Regions from separate parts of the Homo sapiens genome. Here regions 1, 2 and 3 are each linked to region 4. The links are contacts of gene promoters, found by promoter capture Hi-C in blood cells and fetal thymus (Javierre and others, 2016). All regions are on one chromosome and are shown on one strand. The core of a region is centred on a gene start or on the middle of the fragment in contact, and the rest is flanking DNA. Distances in the headings are between cores, read along the strand shown. Region 1 holds the start of ZSCAN10 (zinc finger and SCAN domain containing 10). Region 2 holds the start of CLDN6 (claudin 6). Region 3 holds the start of ZNF200 (zinc finger protein 200). Region 4 overlaps CLUAP1 (clusterin associated protein 1).

Region 1 (3,345 bases), core at 167-2,666, 410 kb before region 4:
AGAAAAATGGTGTTGTGAGGCCGGATGCGGTGGCTCATGCTTATAATCCCAGCATTTTGGGTGGCCAAGGCAGAAGGATTGCTTGAACCTGGGGGGTCAAAGCTGCAGTGAGCCATGTTCGCGCCACTGCACACCAGCCTGGATAAAAGGCGAAGACCCTGTCTCAAAAAAAAAAAAAAAAAAAAGAAAGAAAGAAAGAAAAGAAAAGAAAAGAAAAAAAAAGAGTGGGGGAGGGGGAAGAAAATGGGATTACGTTTCACTGGTTTTTAGTAGCATGCACAAAATAACAAGAAAACTAATCACTGCTCATCCATTGCCGTGCAGGAGCAGCGGGCAGGTACTGAGTGTCTGGCGATTAAGCTCATTTCATCCCAGTCCAGCCCACGCACGAAACAATCACTTCTCCCTTTGCCAAGTGCAAAGACCAAGCTTTGCACTTGGTGACATGCTCAGGGTCACACCAGGTGGAGCCAAGGTTTGCTTTAGGCTGAGAGTGTAGGTCTAGAACACAGTGCCAAAGCTCTGAAACAGAAAAGGAACTGATCTCCATCCTGCTCTGTGCCATTTTCCTAGCCTTAGCCGAAATATCACAGCATGAAACAGAAAAAAAATGAAGATTCCAAATTTCAGCTCTCAGGGCAAGCCACACAGGGAGGCCGGAATCTCCAGGTGAGATCTCTCCAAAAGGTTTCAAAGAGGTGGAATTCGAGACAAGTTGGCTTCAGAGAATCTCTCCCTCCCCCCAGATCTCCAGGACAAAAGCTCTGTTAATATGCACCTCTGTTGGGGGTGGGCTGGGTAGGGAGGCAGGCAGAGGCTCTACAGCCACCATCCAACATTTGAGCAGCTTAATTTGGAGCCCGGGGTGGAGGTGCTGCCACGAGACCCACCCAGGTCACCTGAGAGCCCAGAGTTGGGGAAGGCGGCAAAGGTGGGGTCCTCAGCCGGGAACACTCCCTTTCTCCCTGGACACAGTTGGCAGCTGCCTGATTTGTTGTTTGTTGGAGGGGCCTCCCTCCGCGTGCTGGGCTGAGTGGACAAGGCCCATCAGTCCACCTGGGAGCACGTGAAGCCAGCCTTCTTCAATGTCACAGGAAGTTCTGCGATCTCCCTCGTCCCCAACGCCCCCATCGCGACAGGTCCACCAAGCTGGCTGGCACGAGGCTCCCCAGCAGACCCTCTACATCCTCCCAAGACTCTTCCAGCCCCCACCCCAGCACCAAGGCCTGGAGCCTCCCCTGCTCTCTCCAAGCTGCTGCGAGCTCCTAGCACCCGTCCTGGCAGCCTGCACCCCGACCTCCCTCCAACTCACCACTCGGAGTCCCCACTACACAGGCAGAGATGCTGGGGGGTTTTCTGAGGACTCCAGGGCCAAAGCCAGCCTCCGCCAGCCTGGGGAAGGGCTCTGGGAAAATGGAACAGGAAGTTCCTTGCCCCAGTCCCATCCCATCCAGGTGATGAGGGGCTTCCTAGAGTTAACCCTTAAGCTCCCAGTTTGGGAGCGGGATGGGAAGAGGGCGGGGCCAGTGACATGAAGACAAAGTGAGAAATCCAGATTTCAATCCCAGCCTGTGTGAGAGTGTAACCACCTCCCAAATCAAGACTGGCCTGGTGCCCCTTGCAGGTCTGCCCGTCTTTCCTTTGGGCTAAGAGCTGCCATTTTTAAATGCCCACAGTGTGCTGGCTTCTTTGCTAGGCTTTTCATTCACGTGACTACTCTTTGCAATGGCCTCCTGTGTGCCAGGCACTGTTACAAAGCAGGGGCTAAGGACACAGAGAGAAACTGAAGGAATGAGGCCCTGCTCTCAGGGGCTTACATTCTAGGGCAAAGGAGCAGCGACGGTGCTAGGAAAAAATGGAAGAGGAGGATGTGATGGGGCAGAGTTTGCTCCATCTACACGGTCACCTAAAGTCCTCCCAAGTCCTGCCAGGTGGCTTTTGTCCCAACTTTACCGATGACGAAGCAAGGGCTCCCCGGGAGGGAAGTGACCTAACCAACAGCGTTTGGCCCCAAACTAATTCCATCCCTGTGCTTAAGGTGCCTTCTTGGGTTGTGCCCTTGGCTGCAGCTGGTGCCTTCCTGAGCGTTCTGAGCCCCCGGGGAGCCAGGACCACCTCTCAGGTGTTGGCCGTTCCCCCGGCCTAGACCCCTCGGTCCGTTGGGGCCAGGACCCTCCTGACTGGCTCATCTGACGGGTCTTTGTTTTCCTGCACTTAACACCTGAGCTCATCCTGTTCCTACTTCAGTTGTCTAGTGCTCCCTTCGTACGACGGTCTTTCTCCTTGGTCTGCTCTGCATTCCCCGCGTCCCGCGCCTCGCTCTCCCAGTCGCGGGCTCCTCCCACTCCATAGTTTGTTCAGGGGCGGGGCCAGAAAACCCCGCCCCCAGGGAAGTGGGCCTGAAGGCCAAGGGGCGGGGCGGGGTTCTGTAGGGACGGAGGGGGCGTGTCCGGGGCGGGGCGGGGTGCTGTAGCGCCGGAGCGGGTGTGGCCTTGGCGGGACCAGGCAGCCATTACAGTCTCGGAAGCGAGAGGCGTGGGGCCTGTCTCATCATGCCCGGTTCATTTTTTTTTTTTTTTTTTTTTTTGTAGAGATGGGGTTTCATCATTTTGGCCAGGCTAGTCTTGAACTCCTGAACTCAGGTGATCCACCTGCCTTGGCCTCCCAAAGTGCTGGGATTACAGGCATGAGCCACCGCACTCAGCCTCTTTAATCACCTGAGGTCAGGAGTTCAAGACTAGCCTGGACAACATGGTGAAACCCCATCTCTACTAAAAATTTTTGTTTCTTTTAAAATTGTAATTTTCCCAATTCCACTTATTTTATTTTATTAGAGACAAGGTCTTGCCATATCTCCCAGGCTGGACTCAAACTCCTGGGTTAAAGTGATCCTCCCATCTCGGTCTACCAAGGAGCTGGGACTACAGCTGGGACTCCATGCCATCGAGCGTTCTTTCCCTCTCGTTGCTGAATGATTTTCCTCATTACATCAGTTATTCATTCTGCTATGGGTAGCCCGTGGGCAGTTTTCAGTTTGGGGCTATCTCTAGTGGTTCTCATATGTCTCTGGTGACCATATATGGGACAGCAGTCTGAAGTAGGTGAAGAGCAGAGTGAGAGGTTAGGTTTATCTTTGGGAGGTAAGGACTGCACGTGTGTACTCCGAGGTCTGAGGCCACCGAGGAAGCCTCAGGGACTGGCCTCCGTGTAGAGCTGCTCTCACTGCCCTGGGCATTGGGGACAAGGCCAGGACAAGCAGGACCCCGTGCGTGTTTCCTCGAATGGCTTATGGTCGCTTCAGAAAGACACTGGGTGTTTGTTGGCGTTCGGGCTGCCAGGGCCATC
Region 2 (3,221 bases), core at 540-3,039, 490 kb before region 4:
TGACAGGACGGTGCGATTTCCAAGCAGTTTCCGTGTAGAATGGTTCAATTCTAGCCCTGAGTTTAAGGCTCAAAACTTGTCCATTTGTTTTGTTTGTTTGTTTGAGACGAGGAGTCTCGCTCTGTGGCCCAGGCTAGAGTGCAGTGGTGCCATCTCCACTCACTGCAACCTCTGCCTCCCAGGTTCAAGCGATTCTCCTGCCTCAGCCTCCCAAGTAGCTGGGATTACAGGTGCACACCACCACGCCCGGCTAATTTTTTTTTTTTTTTTTTAAGACGGAGTCTCGCTCTGTCGCCCAGCCTGGAGTGCAGTGGCGGGATCTCGGCTCACTGCAAGTTCTGCCTCCCCGGTTCACGCCATTCTCCTGCCTCAGCCTCCCGAGTAGCTGGGACTACAGGCGCTCACCACCACGCCCGGCTAATTTTTTTGTATTTTTAGTAGAGACGGGGTTTCACTGTGTTAGCCAGGATGGTCTCGATCTCCTGACTTCGTGATCCTCCCGCCTCAGCCTCCCAGAGTGCTGGGATTACAGGCATGAGCCACCACACCTGGTCTTAATTTTTGTATTTTTAGTAGAAACAGGGTTTCATCAAGTTGGCCAGGCGGGTCTCGAACTCCTGACCTCAGGTGATCTGCCCGCCTCAAGCCTCCCAAAGTGCTGGGATTACAGGTGTGAGCCACCGTGCCCAACCAAAACTTGTTAATTTCAACACTAAGATTGGAGATCCTAAGCTTCCTCCCACCACCCAATGTCCCTCACAACTTGGTTCCACACCCCAGGCTGGCAGACACCAGGACCAGGAGAGATGAAGAAAAGCATCATTAATCCCCCATCTAAAAGCAGTTCCTCCCCCAAAGCCAGTGGATAACTCCCTGGCCCCACCCTTCTGACCTGCCCTAGGCGCCGGAGAGCATAGCCTCAAGGCTGAGGGCCTTTTCCTATGAATTCTAGACGAAAATGCCGTGCTAGACTCCCCTCAACACCAGTTCTCCCACCGCCACCTGGCCTGCACCTGTGTCCCCTCAGTGTTGGAGGTCGTGGAGGGAATCACTTCTGACTAGGGCCGGGCTGTGGCCTCCCACTGCCCAGAGTACTTTCATTGTACGGCTTGGACCTAAACTTTTCCCGGCCGGCAGCGGTCGGAGGGCAGGCTCTACTCATTAGCCGGGGGCCCCAGGCCTGGGCGGAGCAGACCACCTTGGGGAGACTGGCTGGGGCACGGTGCCCCAGCGCTCAGGTCCGGCCCTTAGGCCTCTGGCCGAGTTAGGGTCGGGGCCGCGCTGGTATAGGCGCCCAGGCCTCTCCCCTCTGAGTGTGCCCCTGCCCCTTTCTTTTTCATGCACTGCATGAAAAAGACTCTGTCCGAGGGCGCCCCGGCCCACCCGACCACCCCAGCCTGGGAGCCGCGCGCCCTGGAGGGGTTCTATAGCTGCAGTGGCCGCAAGGTCCGCTCCCCCAGGTGAGGGGGAGGGGGGAGGGGCGCCCCGCCCCGAGAGGCAAGGCAGGTGGGGGAGGGGCGCCAGGGGTTTCGGAGTCTTTGTCCCTGGGGAGGGGGGAGGGGCGTTTAACCCTTGGGAGCCCCGAAGGACCCTATCACCTCGGAGGCTTGGGCGCGGACCGGCCGACCCCCTCAGGGACTCGCCCATCCAGGTGGCCGCAGCCCGAGTTCGCACGCACCCCTACCCACGCCGCCACCACCCTGCACCCGGCCCCAAGAGGCGTCTCTCCAACACGCACACTAGCCCCGGACTCACCTGCGAAGGAGATAAGGGAAATTCCTAGGCCGAGTGTCGGGACAGGGGCGGAGGCGGGGGTCTTAAAGAAGCGGTGACGTCACTGGACCACCGCCCCGGAGGAGGGGCAGAGACCCTGTCCCTGACGGCAGCGGGCGTGCGAATCCCAGGCTTGTCAGAGGGGGGCGCTGGAGGCTGGGGTCGCTGGGCCCGCCTCGGGCTGGCAGACGTCCAGACTCACCCAGGGTGAGGGCGCCAGGCTTAGGGTAGAACAGAGCTTGAGACTCCGCTTCACCACTTAAGCAGCGCGGTGACATGGGGAACTCACCTAACCTTCCCGAGCCTTCGTTTCCTACTCTGCAAAATGGAGATAACAAGTCTGCATTTTATTATGTAACTACGTCCTAAGGTACAAATTAAAGGGCATACTATTGGTATTATTTTAGAGAAATATTTTCACTGTGTCACCCAGGCTGGAGTGCAGTGGTGCGATCACGGCTCACTGCAGTCTCGACCTTCTGGGCTCAAGCGATCCTCCCGCCTCAGCCTCCTGAGTAGCTGGGACTACAGGCAGCACACGCCACCGTGCCCAGCTAATTTATGTTTTGTTTTGTATAGACAGGGTCTTGTTATATTGCCCAGGCGTCTCGAACTCCCGGACTCAAGCGATCCGCCCGCCTTGGCCTCGCACTGCGCTGGGATTACCGGCTTAAGCCACCGCGCCCGGCCAGATAATATTATTTTTATGTTGCTGGTTTTTTGTTGTTGTTGTTGTTTGTTTTTGAGATGGAGTCTCGCTCTCTCGCCAAGGCTGGAGTGTGGTGGCGCGATCTTGGCTCACTGCAAGCTCTGCCTTCCGGGTTCACGCCATTCACCTGCCTCAGCCTCCAGAGTAGCTGGGACTACTACAGGTGCCCGCCACCACCCCCGACTAATTTTTTTGTATTTTTAGTAGAGACGGGGTTTCACCGTGTTAGCCAGGATGGCCTCGATTTCCTGACCTCGTGATCTGCCCGCCTCGGCCTCCCAATGTGCTGGGATTACAGGCGTGAGCCACCGCGCCCGGCCTGTTTTGTTTTTTGAGATGGAGGCCCTCTCTGTCGCCCAGTCTGGAGTGCAATGGCGCTATCTCGACTGACTGCAACCTCCGTCTCCCAGGTTCCAGAAATTCTCCTGCCTCAGTCTCCCGAGTAGCTGAGATTACAGGCGCCCACTACCACGCCCGGCTAACTTCTTTCTTTTTTTTATTTTTAGTAAAGACGGGGGTTCACCAAGTTGGCCAGGCTGGTCTCGAGCTCCTGACCTCAGGTTTAATTGTTATACCCCCCGGGCCCTTAACAAAGCTGTAGTGGCCAGGCTAACCTGGGCAACATAGTAAGACCCTGGTCTCTACAAAAAATACAAAAATTAGCCGGACGTGGTGGGGCAGGGCCTGTGGTCCCAGCTACTTGGGAGGCTGAGGTGGGAGGCTCACCTGAGCCCAGAGA
Region 3 (2,990 bases), core at 349-2,848, 270 kb before region 4:
CTTTCTGACTGGGCTGGACCAGGCTTGGCTTGGGCAAGAAGGTGAGGAAGTGCTCCAGCACTAGCTGGTGGATGGTCTTGGGCCCGTTAGTGGCATCTCGAAGTAGGTCTTGGCCCAGCTTGGAGTCTGGCGGAACTCTCAGTATAAAGGACTGCTTTGGCTTTGGGGGCATAGGAACCACTTTTGCAGCCATCATGCCTTGCAACCACACACCACACTCGTTTCGCGGGGCCTCCAGAGCCACCTCTTACTAGAGGAAATCTGCCAGAGAGCCAAGCTGTAGACAGAGAAACCAGGGATTACCCAAAAGACCAGGCACGGCATTACTGCACTCCAATATGTGGCATGGCTGGTGAGGCTACATGAGATCTAAAGAAAACGACAGCTGGGATAGGGAAATCATAACTGAAACGCAGTATTTGAACAAGATATGCTTAGGAAGATGTGAAAGGAAGATCCTGAGAATGAAAAACAGAGACTGTGCAAACCTCAAGTCCAAAGGGAAGGGAGTAAGGGTGGAGCGGAGAAGGCCAAGGTCCAGCCTCCTGAGAAATACAAAGTGTGGCCAGGTACCGGTGGCTCACACCTGTAATCCCAGCACTTTGGAAGGCCCTGGCGGGTGGATCGCTTGAGTCCAGGAGTTCAAGACCAGCCTGGGCAACACAGCAAGACACCGACTCCATAAAAAAAAAAAAAATTAGCTGGGCGTGGCGACACAAGCCTGTGGTCCCAGCTACTGGGGAGCTGGGAGGATTGCTTGTGCCCAGGAGGTCGAGGCTGCAGTGAACTGTGATCGCGCCACTGCACTGCAGTCTGAGCGACAAAGCAAGACCCTGACTCTAAAAAAAGAAAGGAAAAGAGAAAGGAAAGAAGGAGGAAGGGAATCAGGGAAGAGAAAGAAAATAAAAGGAAAAAGAAAGAAAAGACAGAAAGAAAGACGGTGTGTAAAACCCACCAGGAATAGGTTAAATCAGGCTTGGAGAAAGAGCAATGGGCTAGAAGACAGGAAATCTGGGGTCAATACCGAGGACATCTGCCTAAAAGCAGGTTGGTCACTGAATCTGGCCATACTGTACCCCTCGAACCGAAGCTCCCTCCGGTGCCCTTTGGGCGGGGAGGCGGTTGGTGACTCTCCCGGGGAGCAGATGCAAGGCCGAGGAGGTGTCCACACACCGCCTGCCGACTCCTCTCCGCCGTCAAAGCTCTGCTGAGAGCGGCAGGCGACATCCCACTAAGGACCGCCGGGCCAGGCTCACTCTGGGGCCTCTTCCGCTGGTCAAGGAACACCTTTACCGTAAAGCTCAGCGTGCGCCCCTGCCTGAGGCGCTCACCAGGCTCCCTACCCGGCCTTGCTCCCTCAGCAACGGACACGCTCCGCTCCCCAGAGGCGGCCTCAGCCTGGTTCCCGCCCTCACGGAGCCCCTCACCTCTCGGGGCCTCTGCAGCCCCTGAGCGTTTGCTGGGGACGGCTCAGAGACTCAGGCTCCGGGAGAGATAGAAAAACTAGGCGCGAGCGGTCGAGCCCTCCCCTCGCCCTTCCGAGTGCCCTCACAGGTCGCCGGCGACTATTCGTTCGCGCCGCCGCCAGTTGAGGAGAACGGCAGGGACTCGGTGCCTTCTGGGAAGTCGGGCGCTCTGCGGCTGTGACGTCACAACCGGTGCCTTGTTTCCGGTGCAGAAGCCTGGTCTCCCCGTTCGGAGCCGGCAGTCTGCGCTTGAGACGTTAAGACTTGAGACAGGCCAGAGGAGCTCTCAGGGCCGGAGGGAGGCCAGGACGGCTGTAGCCTCTCTGTGGTTCTGCCTGGAAGACGGAAGGCAGGTGGTTGGCTCTAGTCATCCACGACGGGCTGGCACCTCTCCAGCTGCGGCCAGTCTAACCCCAGGGCCTGCTGGGAAATGTAGTTCGAATGCAAACAACCAATGGACGACCGTCAGGCGCGGCGGTTGGGGCGGGGCAGGCCCCCCCACCGCCCCACCCCCCGCCCACCCAGCGCCCGCGCTCCCCCCACCCCCCACCCCGCCACCCCCCTACCCCGCCACTCCCCCACCGCCCTACTCTCCCCACCCCCCACCCCCCTACTCTCCCCACCCCCCACCCCCCACCCCGCCACCCCCCACGGCGCCACCCCCCAACCCCCACCCCCCTACTCTCCCCACCCCCCTACTCTCCCCACCCCCCTACTCTCCCCACCCCCTACTCTCCCCACCCCCCTACTCTCCCCACCCCCCCACCCCCTACTCTCCCCACCCCCCTACTCTCCCCACCCCCCTACTCTCCCCACCCCCCCACCCCCTACCCTCCCCACCCCCCCACCCCCCTACCCTCCCCACCCCCCTACCCTCCCCACCCCCCTACCCTCCCCACCCCCCTACCCCGAGGCTTAAAGGAAGCAAGCTATCTCTCCGACCGGAAAATCAAGACGCCTCCGCGGTTTCCGCCTTTTACTGCGGTTCTCCAGTAAAAAGACTGCGGAGGCGGACAGGGTGTGGCCGCCATGGGACTCCGCCCCCGCTCTGGTGACTCCCATAGGTTAGAGATGGGGCACCGACATTGCCCACTCCAGCTTGCTAACTTCTACACTGCTGTCCGCACCGGCCGTCTTGTTTTTAAAGACATCTTAATTGCCCTTCTCCTACTGTCTCGGTTTCCTTTCTCAATTTCAGCTTCCTACGGAGGCCGAACAGAGTTTTGTGTTTGTGCGTTGTATCCACACTCGGTTCGTTCCCCAGTGACGCACTGATCAGGGTTCGGACAACTTGTGGGCAGGGATGGCCTTATTTCTCGATGTAATACCAGCCTCCAGAAAGTTGACAAAAGTAAAAATATAAATGAATGCCTCTTCTTAAAGTTAATTATACCTGACTAATGGCTGACGATGGCTTAAAATATGTTACAAAGAAACGAGTATGAAAACTGTGTGGCACCAAGACATTCTAGAAAAATAAGGAATATCTGCCTTTTCAGATCAAAATTTACTAAAAAGCCTCCG
Region 4 (3,013 bases), core at 431-2,930:
ATTGCACTCCAGCCCAGGTGACAGAGTGAGACCCTATCTCAAAAAAAAAAAAAAAATTAAAAACATTATGAAACAAAATGGAGTAAAATGACTTTTTACCCTATCTGCCCTGGGCCAAGTTCCATTCCAAATAACCACTATTTTAAATCTCTTCCAGAGTTTGTGTGTGTGTGTGTGTGTGTGTGTGTGTGTGTGTGTGCAAATAAAAATATATATTTTTCCTTTGTTTTACACAAATGGTACTGTATTCTACTTGATGTACTTACTGTACACTACAAGATGTTTAGCATCTTGCTTTACTTAATGGTATATTTTAGAGAACTTTCCAAATACATATAGAATTTCCTCATTCTGTTTACGCCTGAGTGGTATTGCTTGCATGGATTTGCCATAATTTATGTAATTTATATAGGTAGGCTTTTAGGTTGTCTGAAGCTTTGCTCTTTGGAACAGTGCTGTAACAAATAACCTGTACATCTCATTTTGTTTGTGTTTGAGTGTGTCCCTAGAATAAGTTCTTAGATTTGGGATTGCTGGGTCAAAAGATATGTGCATTTGTAATTTTGATGTCTTTTACCAAATTGCTCTCCATCAAGATTGTCCCAGTTTATACAACCACTCACAATGTTTGAGTCACTTGAATGCTTTGCTTTTATTAGGTTATATCCCAGTTGTCAGCAGAGGCATTTTCAACTCACCTACATGGGATTTAGTTTAGACATTACATGGAAAGGGCCTTCAACTTTTTTTTTTTTTGGTCTAAAAATAGGCCACCAAGGCACATATAAAACTCAACACTAAGAAGCTTTATCAAGCAGATGGGTATGCGGTAAAAGAGCTGCTGAAGATCACATCTGTCCTTTATAATGCTATGAAGACCAAGGGGATGGAGGGCTCTGAAATAGTAGAGGAAGATGTCAACAAGTTCAAGTTTGATCTTGGCTCAAAGGTAAGGACAACAAAAGCCTTGTAGTGGGCGATGGAGCGTTGATTTCTTGAGCTCTGAAGTGGAAGGAGTCTGCTACAGCTCCGCTGCTTTTCTTCCTCCTCAGCTGAGGGCAGTTTGTCAGTTTTGTGCTCATCAGCATTTGGATAAAGTCAAAGTCACAATCCACTAATTCAACTATTTATTAAAAGCTTAGTATTTGTCAGGTAGCATTCAAGCGCTGAGGATACAGTTGTGAACAAAAAGGACAAAAATCGTGTGTTTATTCTCTTCAGTTAGGGGAGTCAGACTGTGAACAATAAGAGGTGTGGAAGGCCAGATGCAGTGCAGGCTGTGGAGAATAATAAGCTGGGATGGGGATGGATGCTGCCCAGAGTGATCTTAAATCGGGTGATCAGGAAGGCCTCATGGATTGGATGGTGTTTCCAGCAGAGATCCAAGGGAGGGAAAGAGTGAGTTGTGCGGGTGGCGGGTGGCGTCAGGGTGTCTCAGGATGATAATTTGTTTTGGGCTGGGTGCAGTGACTCACTCCTGTAAGCCAAACACTTTGGGAGGCCGAGGTGGGAGGATCCTTTGATGCCAAGAGTTCCAGACCAACCTGGGCAACATAGTGAGACGCCATTTTTACCAAAAAAAAGAAAAAAATTAGCTAGGCGTGGTGGTACACACCTGTGGTCCCAGCTGCCCAGGAGGCTGAGGTGGGAAGATCTCTTGAGCCCAGGCAGTCAAGCCATGTTCATGGCACTGCGCTCCCGCCTAGGCAACAGAACGAGACCTTGTCTGGGGGGAAGAAAAAAAATGTGTTTTGTGTGTTTGAGGAAAAGCAAGGAGGCCGTGTGATGAGGGTTGGGATTGACAGACCCTCTGGCGCCTGGGAAGCCCCTGGAAAGCCTTTGTCTTTGCCTCTAAGGTGGGAATCGTTGGGATCCAAGCGGAACCTTCTGTGCTTATTTCCCGTCCAAAGGGTTGCTCTGGCTGCTGAGCCGCCATCAGACCGAAGCAGGCGGCAGGGCTGGAAGCAGCGAGCCTGTTTGGAGAGTGAGGGGTGACCGTGGCTTTGAGCAGAGTGCTGGTGGGACAGGTGCCGTCAGGTGTCAGGGAGCGACCACAGCAGCAAGCCAGAAATAAAGGTTAAGCCGTTACTCTGAGGCCCAAGGCCTCAGAGCAGGAGACCTAGGAATGAAGGCCCCGGGGCTGGGAGTGCACCTAAGAGTGTGGCCACGCAGGGTACGTGAAACCACAGTGCACTGGCTGAGCTCCAAGTCTGCTGCAGGGAAGAAAGCTTCCCCTGTGAGGCCTGCTAGGTGAGGCCTTGTCATGGTCTATAGTTGGGCTTGAAAAGCCACACACAGCTTTTTTGTTTTGTTTTTGTTTTGTTTTGAGACGGAGTTTCAGTCTGTGGCCCAGGCTGGAGTGCAATGGCACGATCTTGGCTCGCTGCGCCTCTGCCTCCCAGGTTCAAGAGATTCTTCTGCCTCAGCCTCCTAAGTAGCTGGGATTACAGGTACACACCACCATGCCCAGCTAATTTTTTTTTTTTTTTTTTGAGATGGAGTTTCACTCTTGTTGCCCAGGCTGGAGTGCAATGGCACAATCTCAGCTCACTGCAACCTCTGCCTCCCAGGTTCAAGTGATTCTTCTGCCTCAGCCTCCTGAGTAGCTGAGATTACAGGCATGCGCCACCACACCCAGCTAATTTTTTACTTGTAGTAGAGTCAGGGTTTCTCCATGTTGGTCAGGCTAGTCTCGAACTCCTGACCTCAGGTGATCTGCCCGCCTCAGCCTCCCAAAGTGCTAGGATTACAGGCGTGAGCCACCGCACCCGGCTTTGTATTTTTTTTTTTTTTTTTAGCAGAGATGGGGTTTCACCATGTTGGCCAGCTAGTCTCAAACTCCTGACCTCAGGTGATCTGCCTGCCTCGGCCTCCCGTAGTGCTGGGATTATAGGCGTGAGCCACCGCGCCTGTCCTCACATGTGGGTTTTTAACCAGGAGCGACACTCGTCAGCAAGAGAAGTGTCTAGAGATTGGGGCATATTTTGATGGTAGATCTCACGGGATGAGGCAT

The links. The method cuts DNA at HindIII sites, captures the fragments that hold promoters and counts their contacts. A CHiCAGO score of 5 or more calls a contact.
Region 1: a contact is called between the fragment with the promoter of ZSCAN10 here and a fragment that was not itself captured in region 4, in 3 of 17 cell types (naive CD4 T cells, non-activated CD4 T cells and total CD8 T cells). The highest score is 7.1, in naive CD4 T cells.
Region 2: a contact is called between the fragment with the promoter of CLDN6 here and a fragment that was not itself captured in region 4, in 1 of 17 cell types (total CD8 T cells). The highest score is 6.3, in total CD8 T cells.
Region 3: a contact is called between the fragment with the promoter of ZNF200 here and a fragment that was not itself captured in region 4, in 13 of 17 cell types (naive CD4 T cells, total CD4 T cells, naive CD8 T cells and 10 more). The highest score is 10.0, in naive CD4 T cells.

Annotation. Positions count from the first base shown.
Region 1 is chr16:3,097,878-3,101,222 of GRCh38, forward strand. It overlaps ZSCAN10 (zinc finger and SCAN domain containing 10), which reads right to left and starts at 1,417. Exons shown (of 6, transcript NM_032805.3): 1 at 1,313-1,417. RefSeq lists an enhancer at 2,170-2,219 and a silencer at 2,380-2,439. The HindIII fragment of the contact is 16,276 bases long and covers 428-3,345 here.
Region 2 is chr16:3,016,394-3,019,614 of GRCh38, forward strand. It overlaps CLDN6 (claudin 6), which reads right to left and starts at 1,790. Exons shown (of 2, transcript NM_021195.5): 1 at 1,756-1,790. RefSeq lists enhancers at 598-1,194, 1,195-1,791, 2,389-2,984. The HindIII fragment of the contact is 3,533 bases long and covers 731-3,221 here.
Region 3 is chr16:3,233,560-3,236,549 of GRCh38, forward strand. It overlaps ZNF200 (zinc finger protein 200), which reads right to left and starts at 1,599. Exons shown (of 5, transcript NM_198088.3): 1 at 1,428-1,599; 2 at 1-277. The coding sequence starts at 196. RefSeq lists enhancers at 1,638-1,697, 1,708-1,917. The HindIII fragment of the contact is 8,399 bases long and covers 1-2,990 here.
Region 4 is chr16:3,507,520-3,510,532 of GRCh38, forward strand. CLUAP1 (clusterin associated protein 1) reads left to right here. Exons shown (of 12, transcript NM_015041.3): 4 at 770-949. Among named protein-coding and RNA genes, the nearest start is that of CLUAP1, 8.0 kb to the left of the region's middle. RefSeq lists an enhancer at 2,396-2,455. The HindIII fragment of the contact is 1,091 bases long and covers 1,136-2,226 here.